Linked DNA regions of Homo sapiens: all the other regions are linked to region 1. Evidence: promoter capture Hi-C in 16 types of primary human blood cells and fetal thymus (Javierre and others, 2016). All regions are on one chromosome and are shown on one strand. Each heading gives the region's core, a stretch centred on a gene start or on the middle of the fragment in contact. The rest is flanking DNA. Distances are from core to core; before and after follow the strand shown.

The links. Contacts are between HindIII fragments. The CHiCAGO score rates a contact against its expected background, and 5 or more counts as called.
Region 2: a fragment that was not itself captured here is called in contact with the fragment with the promoter of NCOA7-AS1 in region 1 in 1 of 17 cell types (total B cells); the score reaches 5.2 in total B cells.
Region 3: a fragment that was not itself captured here is called in contact with the fragment with the promoter of NCOA7-AS1 in region 1 in 15 of 17 cell types (naive B cells, total CD4 T cells, total B cells and 12 more); the score reaches 19.4 in naive B cells.

The regions. Positions count from the first base shown.
Region 1 is chr6:125,816,245-125,820,872 of GRCh38, forward strand. It overlaps NCOA7-AS1 (NCOA7 antisense RNA 1), which reads right to left and starts at 2,614. Exons shown (of 3, transcript NR_126386.1): 1 at 2,566-2,614. The region is part of intron 2 of NCOA7 (nuclear receptor coactivator 7); the gene reads left to right. RefSeq lists an enhancer at 1,839-2,340. The HindIII fragment of the contact is 4,548 bases long and covers 1-4,088 here.
Region 2 is chr6:125,351,598-125,355,656 of GRCh38, forward strand. It overlaps LOC107986640 (a long non-coding RNA gene), which reads left to right. Exons shown (of 3, transcript XR_001744328.3): 3 at 550-4,059. Among named protein-coding and RNA genes, the nearest start is that of HDDC2, 52 kb to the left of the region's middle. The HindIII fragment of the contact is 9,886 bases long and covers 1-4,059 here.
Region 3 is chr6:125,310,834-125,315,384 of GRCh38, forward strand. No RefSeq gene overlaps it. Among named protein-coding and RNA genes, the nearest start is that of HDDC2, 11 kb to the left of the region's middle. The HindIII fragment of the contact is 2,654 bases long and covers 1,084-3,737 here.

The DNA.
Region 1 (4,628 bases), core at 1,364-3,863:
TAGATTTTAGGTTGATAATGGGAAAAGGACAGAAACAATTTAAGGACCTACTATGTACTGAGTGTTTTACTTATTATTTTAATTGCCTTCAAAATAAATCTATGACATCGGTTAATTTATCTCCATTTTACCAGTGATGCAACTAAGACTCAGAAAATATTTTGTCCATTTCATGCAGCATAAGAGTCAGTATTAAACATAAGGCCATCTCCAAAAGGCATGCTCCAGTTAGGAATAGTAAATCATGAATAAGGTTTTGGGGAAGCACAAGTTAAACTACCAATTGTAGTAAAATATTTTCTGCTATTATGACTACAGAGAGTAACCAGATTAGGGAAGGAAGACATCAGGCATCTAATGGATGAGGCACCAGAAAGATAGGATATTTAGAATAAATAAGATCTCCAAAGTTTTTATTTTGAGATAATTTTAGATTCACATGTAGTTAGTTGTAAGGAGTAATAGATACCCTGTATTCTTTATCCATAGTACAGTATCACAACTAGGAAATTCATATTGATACAATCCACCAGCCTTATTCAGAGCATTCATTGTATGTGTGTTTGTGTGTATTTAGTTCCATGCAGTTATATCACATGTAGATTTCTGTGGTCACCATCAGTCAAGATACAGAACAGTTGCATTAAAAGGATCCCACATGCTACCTTTTTGTATCCCTACTCACTCCTTCCATCTGCCTGCCTCCTCTGACAACCACTATAATTTGTCATTTCAAGAATACTAGGTGAATGGAATCATATAGTATGTAACCTTTGGCATTTAGCTTTTTCTTCCCTTCAGCATTACTCCCTTGACATCCCTCAAAGCTGTTGCATGTATCGATAGTTTGTTCCTTTTTATTGCACAGTAGCATTCCATAGTATGGATGAATCACAGCTTTTTAGTCATTTACCCATTGAAGGGCATTTAGGTTGTTTCCAGTTTGGGCTATTTATGAACAAAGATGCTAGATGCTACAATCATTTATGTACAAGTTTTTGTATGAGCATGAGTTTTCATTTCCCTGAGATAATTGTCTGAGAGTGCAATTGCTGGGTCAAAAGATAAGTGTATTTTTAGTTTTATAAAAAAGTGCAATACTCTTTTCTGGAATGGTTGTAACATTTGACATTCCCATCAGCAAAGTCTGAGTAATCCAGTTTGTCTGCATTGTCATTTGGTGGTGTCAATATTTTTTATTTTTATCTTAGCTATTCTGATAAGTATGTAGTGATATCTCATTATGGTTTTAATTTGTATTTCCTTAATGGTTAGTGAAGTTTAACATTTTCATGTGCTTATTATTAGCCATAGTGTATCTTCTTTAGTGGCATCTCCTTTCCTATCTTTTGCCCATTTTCTAATTGAATTGTTTAGGTTTTTACTGTTGAATTGTACACATTCTAGTCTTTTGTTGGATATGTGATTTGCAAATATTTTCTCCCGGACTGTAGTTTGTCTTTTCATCCAGTTAACAGAGTTGCAGAGCAAAAGGTTTTAATTTTGATGTGGTTCAATTTATCAGTTTCTCCTTTTATGAATTGTGCTTTTGGTCTGAATTCTAAGATCTCTTTGCCTAGCTGTATGTTCTGAAGATTCTCTCCTGTTTTTCTTTTCTGAAAATTTTATAGCATTATGTTTTATATTTAAGTCTGTGATCCATTTTGAATTTATTTGTGGATAAGATATGAGTTTAGGTCAAAATGGTGGTCATGCTTCTCCTCCCCTTCCTCCCCGTCTCCCTTCCTCACCTCCTCCCTTTCTTCCTGCTCCTCTTCCTGCTCCTCTTCCTCCTCTTCTTCCTCCTCCCCCTTCCCGCTTCTCCCCCTTCCTTCTTTCTCCCACCTCCTCCTTCCTCCTCCTCCTTACTTTCTTCTTCTTTCTTTTCTTTCTTCTTCACTTGCCCTACATAGTGATTTTAAGAGCTATAGTGCCTTCTCAGCCTGAATCCAAAGTGATTCCTGTAGTAAAGGTAACTGCCGGTTCATGAACAACCTGCTCAATGTTAACCTCTTCTTGTTCCTAAAATGTAGAGTCAGGGGAGCCCCTGAAACTGAGAATACAAACCAAAACTGTTCTGGAAGAGCAGCACAGTTTTTTCAACTCAGAAATGTAAAATTGTCTTGCTTATCATGACCTCTTCTGAAAAGTATTCTAAAAATGAAACAAAAAACGTATCCTAAAATGCTGAAATGTGATCTTGGGAGCATAGGGACAGTGGCACAAGGATGAAATCAGTGATGCTCTTAAGACAGTAAGACAACATGATTTGTAACTAGGAAATGAGAGAGATGGAGAGAGGAGAATGGAGAGAAGAGGGGGTAGGAGCAGGGAGAGAGAGAAAGAGACAGAGAGAGAAACACTGACTGACAAACCTGTAGTTTAGCTCTTACAATGCAGTGGAAGCCAGAAATGGTCAAGCTATTAAAAGCAAAAGGCAAACCAAAGAGAAAAGAACCCCCTTCAGCCTATAATCAGAAAAGAGCCATCCAAAGTTATACATCTTTTCAAATGCCTTCTGACTTAACTGTGGAATTACCATGTGGAACTAGCAACAGAACTTACTTGAAAGCTGGTTTCTGACAATGTAGAGCAGAGTTCTCTGGAGCAGCGTACTTAAGGGCAGTCCAAGCAAGATCTCTGGAGAGAAGGATAAAATGTCAGGCCAAGGGTGAGGCCAAACTGATGCAATCTCAGTTTTCTCTAAACTAAATTATACCACCTTACATAAATCTCAACTGGTGTTCTGAGGAAGTCAAAAGGAAGATTTACCCTGATGCTGTGCCTGCTGCCACAATTACATATCTGAAACCCTAAAAACTGCTTTTTAGCCTGCTTCCCCCTTCCACCTAGGAAAAACTAGGAACACCTAGTTTTTCCTCCTGAGTAGTTAAATAGCCAATGTTTTCTTTGTGTGCTATCTTATCATGTGGTTTCATAATCGTTGTGTGACTGTGTTTGATAAATAGTCCTTTGCCAAACCTGTTTTGTTGACGTTTCGCTCTTTAACATCAAAATAGAGTTTAAAATACCCTATTTTAATAATTTTGGATTGAAATTAGTGATTTGAGGGTCACCCAGTCTTTCCTTTCTTATAATTTATCTTGAAATATGCCTGTGTAACTCTAAATAGAGGGGTGGATTAATACTGCTACTAGATAGAGTAATTCTGGATAAGACCTGATGAATTTTTTGGATTTTCTGACCCTGGTCCAACTGGTTTTCAGGTGCTTCAGGATAGTTTTATAACAGTTGTTAAATCTAGATTGAATGATTTGTGAAACTTTTTCACAAATGGTTTTGCAAATAATTTATATATGCAAAATTAGTATATGTCTATATTAATTTCTTGATCCCTGACAGGTCTTGAAAACCAAATGAAAAACTGAATTACTAAAGCAAATTATACTTTCTGTACTATTTGTACTGTGTACAATTTATGCTATCCTCTGGGGTGACTATCATGTGTCATTTGTTACACCCCTGCTGACTCTTCCTTCCCCTTGTAGTTAGAATGCAAAATTTTCTTTAGTATTGCCATACAGGGCTGTCTTCTTACACACTTGCTTGACATTATTTGGCTTTTGTGATTTCCGAGTAGGTCCTTGTATGCCATTGGTTGAAGATTCTTTGAAAGCATTTTTTCAGGATCAAGCGTTGATTGAAGATATCCAAAATACATCTGTAGTTGAACCAAATGGTGTTTTGTGGGAGGTTTACTTTTCCCCTCTGATAAGGTGTGAGAGCCTGGGAGTAAACAGTGAGTAATATAGACGAAGACACAGACTGGGTGTTCATGTAGGTCCCTTGTTGGCTCCCACCTCCCCTATTCCCTGGTTGTCATGAAAAGCAGAACTGCTGCTCCCACCTCCGCTTTCCTCTTAACCCAGCCTTTCAGAGCAGCAGTAGGAGCCAGCACCACCTCTGTCATCATTCTCAGTGACAAAGGATGCAAAGTGTAGAACATTTCTTAGCTCCCATCTCCAGCCTCTGCCCTGGCAATTCTTCACCCTTGAACCTCTGACCCACAAGCAGAACACCTAGTGTTTGCAGTTCACTCCAGTGTATAACCTCTGGCAAGTCTTCTAAGCTTCCTTTACCTTACATTTCTTCAGTTGTTAAATGTTGCTAAAAATAACCAACTAACAAGATGCTTTTGAAGAAGGAGACATCCCAACCAGCCAGAACTGGAGAGAAGCTCAAATGGGACCCAGCAAGGAGGGCCAGAGCTGAACAGCTGGTCCCCTTATTCTCTTTTCCATGGCAGAGGAGATTTGAACCCACTGTATAGCTTTCTCTGTTGTGTGAATAGTACACTTTGTAGCTTTCGTGTTCAAGTAAAATGAAACCAAGATGGCTATGAAGATTGAGGGTAATATACGAACAGTACCTGATACAGTGAGTACTCACACATTCCTTTAATAACAAATCATTCCTGATCTTACTTCTGTGTCTACCTACATCTTCACCTAATTTTCATCTTGACCTCCCACTTTCAGCCCATGAGCTGCTCCTGTTGTTCAGATCAGGGAAGAAGGAACACTTAACGACAATCCAAATTGGAACCATATCATTTCCCAAAGATACTTTGCTATAAGCACAGTTAGTTAGGTTCTGGGATATAATGA
Region 2 (4,059 bases), core at 531-3,030, 470 kb before region 1:
CAGTGACATGCTCCTGTGCTGTTGGATTGTCCTGTTTTGTAAATAAATTTCATTTGGTCTTCAAATTATCAACTTGCAGAAAATCCAGTTGAAGGTTTATTTAAAAGAAGATAGCCATTTGGACTGAATTAACTGGCCTGTTCAATCCAATGACTTCTTGAATAATCTAGTGTAGATTTAATCAAGTCACTTTCACCCTCAAAAATTGGTTCCTAAATAACAACCACATCTTAATCTGCTAAACTCGCACTTTTTCCCTACAAGAGCCCACTGCTCTGGACAAACCCATGAAGCTGTGGACATCAAACATGTTACTGGTCATCCAGACTCTGTGTTTCACCTAAATCTACCCCTATGGTGTAAGTGAACTAGAGAAACAAAGGCTTGATTCTCTAGCACTAAGATGTGCTAACTTATGTTAAGAACTTTTATTTTAGGATGTACATAAGTTAGAATTAAGTTCAGCTGTTAGTAATAGCGATCTACTTAGAGTGACTTAAACAGTTTAAATGTCTATTATCTTACTTTTTCTTTTTTTTTTTTTTACAGGAGACAGGGCCTCTTTCTGCCCCCCAGTCTGGAGGGCAGTGGAGCAAACTCTTGGGTTCAAGCCATCCTCCTGCCTCAGCTTCCTGAGTAGCTGGGATTACAGGAATGTGCCATAGTACCTGGCATATTCTCTTTTTTTTTAAAAGTTGAGAGGTATTTTTTACAGGTTTGGTGTGGTAACTGTTTGTGTTAACCCATTTTGTACTGCTGTAACAGAATAGAACAGACTGAGTAATTTATAATGAACAAAAATGTATTGGCTCATGGTTCTGGAGGCTGGGAAGTACAAGGTTGAGGGGCTGGCACCTTGCAAGGGCCTTCTTGCTACATCATCCTAGGGAGGAAGGGCAAAGGGTGGGATGAGAGGGAGGGAGACAGAAAGAAAGGGCAGGAGAGAGGGAGAGAGAGAAGGAAAGTGAGAGAGAGAGAGAGAGAAAGAAAAAAGAGAGAGAGAAAGAAAGAGAAAAAAGAGAGAAGAGAGAGAGAGATTGAGAACAGAGAGCCAAACTTATCCTTTTGGAAACCACTTCTGAAATAACAGCATTAATCTATTCATGAGGGCAGGGCCCCCACAGTCTAATTATCTCTTAAAGTTCCCACCTTTCAATACTGTTACAAAGGAAATTAAAATTTAACATAAGTTTGAGAGGGTACAAACATTCAAACCATAGAACCCTACAAAAATCTCACAGACCTAGACTTATTTCTTGCTGTTCTGCCTTCTGTTCTCAAGGTCACAAGAGGGCTGATAGAGCTGTAACTATTCACTTCACGGTGGAAGAAACAATAAGGAAAGAAGATATGATCCTCCTTTCTAAAGTGCCTTCTGGAGGTACTTTCTATTTTCCTCCCATTACCCTGAGCCTCATCATATGGCCAAACCAGAGAGGCCGGGAAATGTAATTTCACAGCTGAACACAGTTAAGTTTCCATTATAAAGAAAGAGAACGAGAAAGGATATTAGAGGCAAGAAGCTGTTCCTGTCACAGTTAGCATTAAAACTAAAGTTAGAGAAGAAAATTTTCTCTTTCATTTAATGTTCTATAAAGCAACATTTATTGATGAACTCACTGTCCTAGACACTAAGGATTCAAAAACCGAAATGACACAGTTCTTGTCTTCAGAATATCACAGTCTAATGGAGAAAATACGTGTTCATGTCCATAGATGATTACATACTAGATGTACCCCTAGATTTTTATGAGAACAAGTAAGATAAACTCCCCACTCAGACAAGGGTGAGGAAAAGGAAGAAGGCTTTATGGAAGTCACAGAAGAAAAATACGGAAAGAAAGTAGACTTTGGTGACAATGTATTGGGCAGAGGTCAAATAAAGATAGAAAATACGTCCATTGGGTTTAATAACAACAGAGGCCTTTAGTGAGCTTGGGGAACACTGTTTCAGGGGAGTGCAGGAAATCAAATCCAGTGGGGCAAAATGTGACTATTAATGATAAAGTTGAGAGGGAAAATACAGAAAAGTCTTTAAGAAATGTAGTTATAAAGAGGAAAAGAGAAGGAAAATGGCAGCTAACAAGGTCTAGGCTAGGGAATGGTTTTTTTAAGGATAAGAAACATATGAGGATACTTCAATACCACCGAGAATGTACAAAAAGAGGGACAGAGACAGATATACAAATAAAGAGAGGAAAGAGAGCAGGTGAGCTTATCCTCTGAAATGGCAGAAATCAAAGTAAAATCTAATGCCAAGGCAAGTGATATCTAAGACAATGATCATAAAACTGAGACGTATCTGAAGATAATCTCTATGTTTTCTGTGAAGTAGAAGTCCCAGTTCTGACATAGCAGTAGAGTCAGGGAGAAGAGTGATACATGCAAAAGAGTGATATGCTTTACATTAGCCATTACTAGCAATAAGAAAGACAGGGATGGGTGAAGAAAAGAAAGAAGAGTAGGAAGTAGGAAAGGGCATGCATATTATGAAAATCTTTTCTCTCACCTCTGTCCCCAGTCCCCACCACAGAGGCAATTACTGTCACTAATTTATTGTGTATTTTTCCAGAGGTATTCTATTCCAATACAAGCAAATATCTATATTTATCCCTTTTTACATTTTTACATATGGTGCATACCATACACATTTACCTTGTTTTGGATAATTTAAATATACATAGGTATACTGCTACTCTCCCAATCCCTGAGATACCATCATTAACTCCTCCCTATCTACAAACAAGATGATCATGTCAGAGATGTTAACTGTCTTGCTCAAGATTCTTAGCTGACAAATAAGTAGTGAAGCAGGAAAAACAGATTCCACCATTATATCCATATAATAGATCTGTATTACATTTGGAACTGTTCTCTCAACCAGAAATTAAATCTAAGAGAAAAATACACTTGGAAATTTAACCTCAGAGTGAGTGACTTGAATGCTCCAACTATGCTGTCATCATCATGAAATATTCTACTGCTGTGTTCTATTACTGTTTTGAAACTGTGTCAAAGACCAATTGATAGATAGTCCAGTCAGAAGATCTCAGCTGTGTATGGATATCAAGAGGCACTTAGCTCTAGGAAGGTAGCCTTCTTATGCCTCTTACAGAATTTCTCTCTCCAATTTAGTTGGAGACACAGTGGCCCTGCCTGCCAATTTTAGATCACTCTCCCGCTACAATTTACATAATTTACATTTTAACCTTACTTATCTACCGAAACAGGCCAATGACCCTCCTCAAACAGCTGTGCGTTCTATTTCCTGAGTTTCTGCACTTGTTTCTTTCACTTGAAACTGCCCCTAACACTGCCTCACTTGGACAGCTTCTTTATCTTTCCAAACATAGATTAATTCATTTGCTAATTCAATAAGTACATACTAAGTGCTGGCTACCATCCAGAAAGTTTCAGCCCAGAAGTTTTGATGGGACACAGGATAGGCAAGGGATCTGTCCTCAGGAACTTGTACTCTAGTGTAGAAAGCAGATAAAAACAAATAGATGTATTAACTAGAGATTGTTTGGGGTTCTATGAAAAAAATAAACAAGGTGTTGGAATGGGACATTACAAGAGTGACTCATTTTAGATTGTTAGAGAGATTAAGTTGAGACCTCAAGGGTGAGAAGGAGCCAGCTCTGTGGAAAGCAGGGGAAGGATGTTTCAGGCAGAGGAAAAGCAAGTACTATGGCCTTGAAGTGATAAAGTGGCTTAACCTTTCTAAGAACTGACAAAAGGCCATTGTTGCTGGTGCATAAATGAGGAAGGGGACAGGAGAGAACATAAAGGGAGGAGGTTAGAGAGGTGGGGCAGACCCAGACCATGGAGGGCTTTGTCAGTCAAGGTAACCGAACTCAACTCTAAGGATAATGGGGAAGGATTAAAAGGTTTTATGCAAGGAAGAAAAGAGATGACAACATCTGGTTTTGTTGTTAAACAACTAATTTGGCTACTTTGTAAATAATGCATCAGAAGAGACCGTGTGAAAGTGGGGAATCTGCTGAGGTGCGTGTGATAGTCTGCATGACAGACGATGGTGGCATGAACTAAGGTAGT
Region 3 (4,551 bases), core at 1,161-3,660, 510 kb before region 1:
TTCCCCACCACCCACCCCGCCGGCCTTTCTTTTCAGACTGGGGAAAGAGAATTCTGAATGGTGATCAAGGTCACATTTTAACTTGCAAATGTCAAGAAGAATCTCATCATTCTTGGTTATTTTTGATTGATTAATATATTAGTTAATTGCTGATGAGTTGCTAATGAGCTAATTTATATGCACAGATAGGATCTAACTATGACATAGGAGTAGCATGCAAAGCTGCAAAGCACTGCTAAACAGATCATGGGTGCTGTCCATGGCACCTCTCAGGGCAGGTTAGAGAGAAGAGTGTGGAAACATTGTGCCTCTCTTCCCACCTACTCAATAAAGACAACAGGGAAAACACATGGAGGCATCTTTGGCCATGAACTCCTCACTGCTTTACTAAGCAGCCACCTGTAGTATTAGAATACTACCACTAAGTGGCACCATCTCATTAGTATTCTCTTTTATCAGACTCCTGAAACCTGCTGCGCCTTCTCTTCTGGACCACGGAATACATTTATTGTTCTGTGTTGGCTGATTTGGGTTTAGCAAAAGGGATCTGCTTTCAACATGCTCCTGTGTTTTTTTTCCTCCTTTCCCACGTGTTTCTTTCATTCTTGGGAATCTGAGCCAATACTTAGGCATACGCATAGAGATGAAGGCCATCGTACTGGTAATAACCATAACAGACAACTTAAAGAAGACAAATACTAATAGTGAGCTTTTTAATTTGTAGAGATGAGTTCCCACTATGTTTTCCAGGCTGGTCTCAAATTCCTGGCCGCAAGCGATCATCCTGCCTCAGCCTACCAAAGTCCTGGGATTACAGGCATGAGCCACTGTACTTGGCCCTTTTTTTCTGCAACAATCCCCCAAAGCCTGAATTTTTTTTTTATTTGTAAAAAATAAATAGGGAACTTTAATTGAAGGCTTTTATTTTTGTACTGGGGGCTTTCCAGGTATTATTTCCCAAATTCATCAGCACTCAGTAAGGTTGCCTTCATTTTGTGAGCAAAGAAGCTGAGATTCAGAGAATTAAAGCAAACTTTTCAAAGATGCCCAATGAGAAGGTAAGTGAGACACAACAGGAGTCTAAGCTTACATAATGTCAGAGCATTAATGATCTTTGAATCATTCATGTGACTTAAATATTAGGTATAGTGAGAAAAGACAGAAAAAGTCTAACCCTTCGTGAAGTTCAAAATTGGAAAGGGAAAATAGAGTAAGTGAACCAAATTATTTGTAATACAAAACAATGAGTTATATATGAAATCCATCAAGTTTATAAAGGGTCTGAAATTATTGGGGACACTTACTAGGTACATGCCTCCAGTCCAGGAGACATCCTGAAACCAAATCTTCTCTTGAAGTAGAATTTTTCTGAAAGGGACATAGCTCTGAAGATGAGAGTGAGGAAGTTAGAATAAAAAATATATATTCTCGGGTTTAGCCCTCAAACTCTTGAATCTTTGCTGAAGATGATTTTGTTTCATGACACATTAATTTGTCCTATGTTATTTGAGGTGACGTCTTAGCTCTGTAAATAAGTAAAGGAGATCTAAGTAAACGTTTCAAAGGCTAACAGGCCAAACTCTCCTAGACTGATTATCCCCCAGAACCCCAGGAAAAGCAAGAGCCAGGAATCTCATAATGTGAAGACAAACTAACATTGACGTGTTATGGGCTTGACCTCCCACTTCATGTCTTGCATGCATCACTGTACTTATAACAACCCAACAAGATATGTGTAATACTACATTCGTATTCCATCAGGATGTTGAACTTAGGCAGGTTCAGCACTCACCAGAGGTCACACAGCCAGTGAGTGGTGAAGCTGGGATTCCATCCAAACTGGCAGATCAAAGAACTTGGCTTTTAACCTTTAAATACACTGCCTCCACTTGGCATGCTACATGGTGGTGAGCAAATGCTCTGGCCATTGTAATACTAACTTAAACTTGATTTATGTTTCAAAGAAGTTTCAAGTACATTATTGAATTTGATGCTAAGAACAATCCAATGAGAAAGGCAGTTTAGATTTTCTTATTACCACACCCGCCCTCTAACATGCACACACACAGACACAGACACACACACCCCAGGAGAGTTTAAGTGACTTGGGTTAAACCACAGAGCTACTAAGTGGCTGACCCTGAACTTGAACCTAAGTGTTCTCATCCTTAGCCTACTGCCTTTTTCCTGTGACAGCAATACCACTTCACAGTAAAAAAAAAAAAAAAAAAAAAAAAAAAATGAGGTAAAATTTCCTCCATGTCACTCAGAACATGACATTATCTCCAAAAGTCTCTGTTAAAAGTTAGGCAAGTGGCCAGGTGCAGTGGCTCACACCTGTAATCCCAGCACTGGGAGGCCGAGGTGGGTGGATCACTTGAGGTTATGAGTTTGAGACCAGCCTGGCTAACATGATAAAACCCCATCTCCACTAAAAATACAAAAATTAGCTGCGCATGGTGGTGCATGCCTGTAGTCCCAGCTACTCACAAGGCAGAGGCAGGCGAATCGCTTGAACCGGGAGGCGGAGGTTGCAGTAAGTTGAGATCGCACCACTGTACTCCAGCCTGGGTGACAGAGTGAGATCCTGTCTCAGGAAAAAAAACAAAGACAAGTTACTTAGAAAATATCGTATGAACATCAAATCATATTAATACGTACAGGTGTATATTTTAAATCACTTTAAAGCTCCCTATAAAGGAGAATCTAAAACTGCTTTTTCAAAATTTTTGCATGAATAAATTCAGACACATGTGTAGTGATTTACATAAGTTTATCCAGAAATCAACATCTGTGTTTTGTGTGTGTTATGGATAGAGAGATTTGTACTTTATTTGCACTAGCCACATGCAACAAATGTATAAAGATAAAATCTCTATTCAGATACAGTCTAAGATATCACAATTAGTTTTTATTTAGTCTCAATTTTCTGGTACCCTCTAAGCTGTAAAATCCTGGGAATCCAAAAAAAAGAGTTCAAAAGAAAGGGCCTGAGGGCAGCAGTCAGTGGCTGGAGAGTCAATAGGGGAGTCTTAGAAGTCATTGCACCACTCTGAACCCCACATTCCTCACCTATAACAAAAGGGCTTAGAAGAACTCTAAGATCTCTAAAATGCTAAGGAATAATTCTTAACCTCGATAAAGTCTGAAGACTTGTTTTACTCTGTAAGGATCTACATTTTAAAATAAGTAGCTAAGAATTTTCCATTGCCGTCTTTTAGTAGTAGATTTTTATTGACACAGAACACTCAGGGCTATTTTTCAGAGCCCAGATTTATCCACCTCCCGTGTGCTTCCACTAAAACCGACACGATGTACAGTCTCAGGCACTTTCTCACTGTTTAATAAAAAGGTAATTGGGTGAAGAGCCGTGAGAAAATACTAGTGACTAGATTATTCACTCTTCCGCTGGCCAATGGTTCCTCTGATTTTGGCCCACAGGGGGCCACTTTGATTCGCTGCTGAGAGGTGGCGCTCTTGACCAAAATATCCTCACATCAACGCTGGTGGAGGCTTCCCACTTTATGACTTCCTTATAATAGGCCACAGATGTTCAGTGCAAATGACTGTGCAATACATTGATATCAAAAATTGTTATCACCATACCCCATTCCCTTGGATGATGAATTTCATTTAGAATTACAAAGGAGCAGGAAAAAGGAAGAGGAAGAGGGCAAAACCTCAAAAGACTTCCAATGTTTCAAGAAAATGTTGGACTTTGTTGTGCGCCACTATCAAGCTTTTTCCAAATTTGGTTTCCAAATTACTACGGCAAAGAGGTGAGGTTAAAAGGTTTTGCTGTCTGCAGGCAGAAGGCATCTTTGTGCTGATATGTACCAGCATTCATGTAGAGCTCTAGAGAAAGAGACCCAAGTACTCAGAGACTTTCAAAGGTACAAGTATTATTCTTAGTAATAAACCCCAAATTGTTATACATAGAAATTTGAAATTTAGAATTTAATAAACTGTAGTTCAAATTAACATAGAATCCTCAGAAAGCAAGGCATAAGGATTTGTTTCCCTGATTTAAACTGATGATATGATAGGATGCATCTCTTTATACCCTCCGAATCATGAATCTTTTCACGGCCATGAAATAAAACATGTTAGGGTTTTCTCTTGGCCTGGGGACAAACTGGCTGCCCTTCTGTTAGTCCCATAGATCGGGTCAACTCTCCATGGATATACCAGTACCCCCAGTTTCTGTCTGTCATGACAACTCACCTTGGACAATGCTTCAAATTATTAGATAATCCTTATATTAAAACAAAATTTGTTTCCCTGAAGTTTTAAATTTTAATTCATAAACAAGACAATACTTTAAGATTTTTTTGAGCATCTGCCATGTGCCAGTCCTTGTGAGGGCTTACAAATAAAAAGGTGAGGAAGTTATATGTAGTTTACCTGATCTTGTGGAATTTATAGCACACTTCTCTAGTTCTCTCAATTTTTCCATCCTAATGCTCCTAGGAAATAGATCACATTCCCATTGTAACAGTGGCACTCTACAGCAGGCACATGAGCATCTCAGCAGAGAAAGGAATTATAACC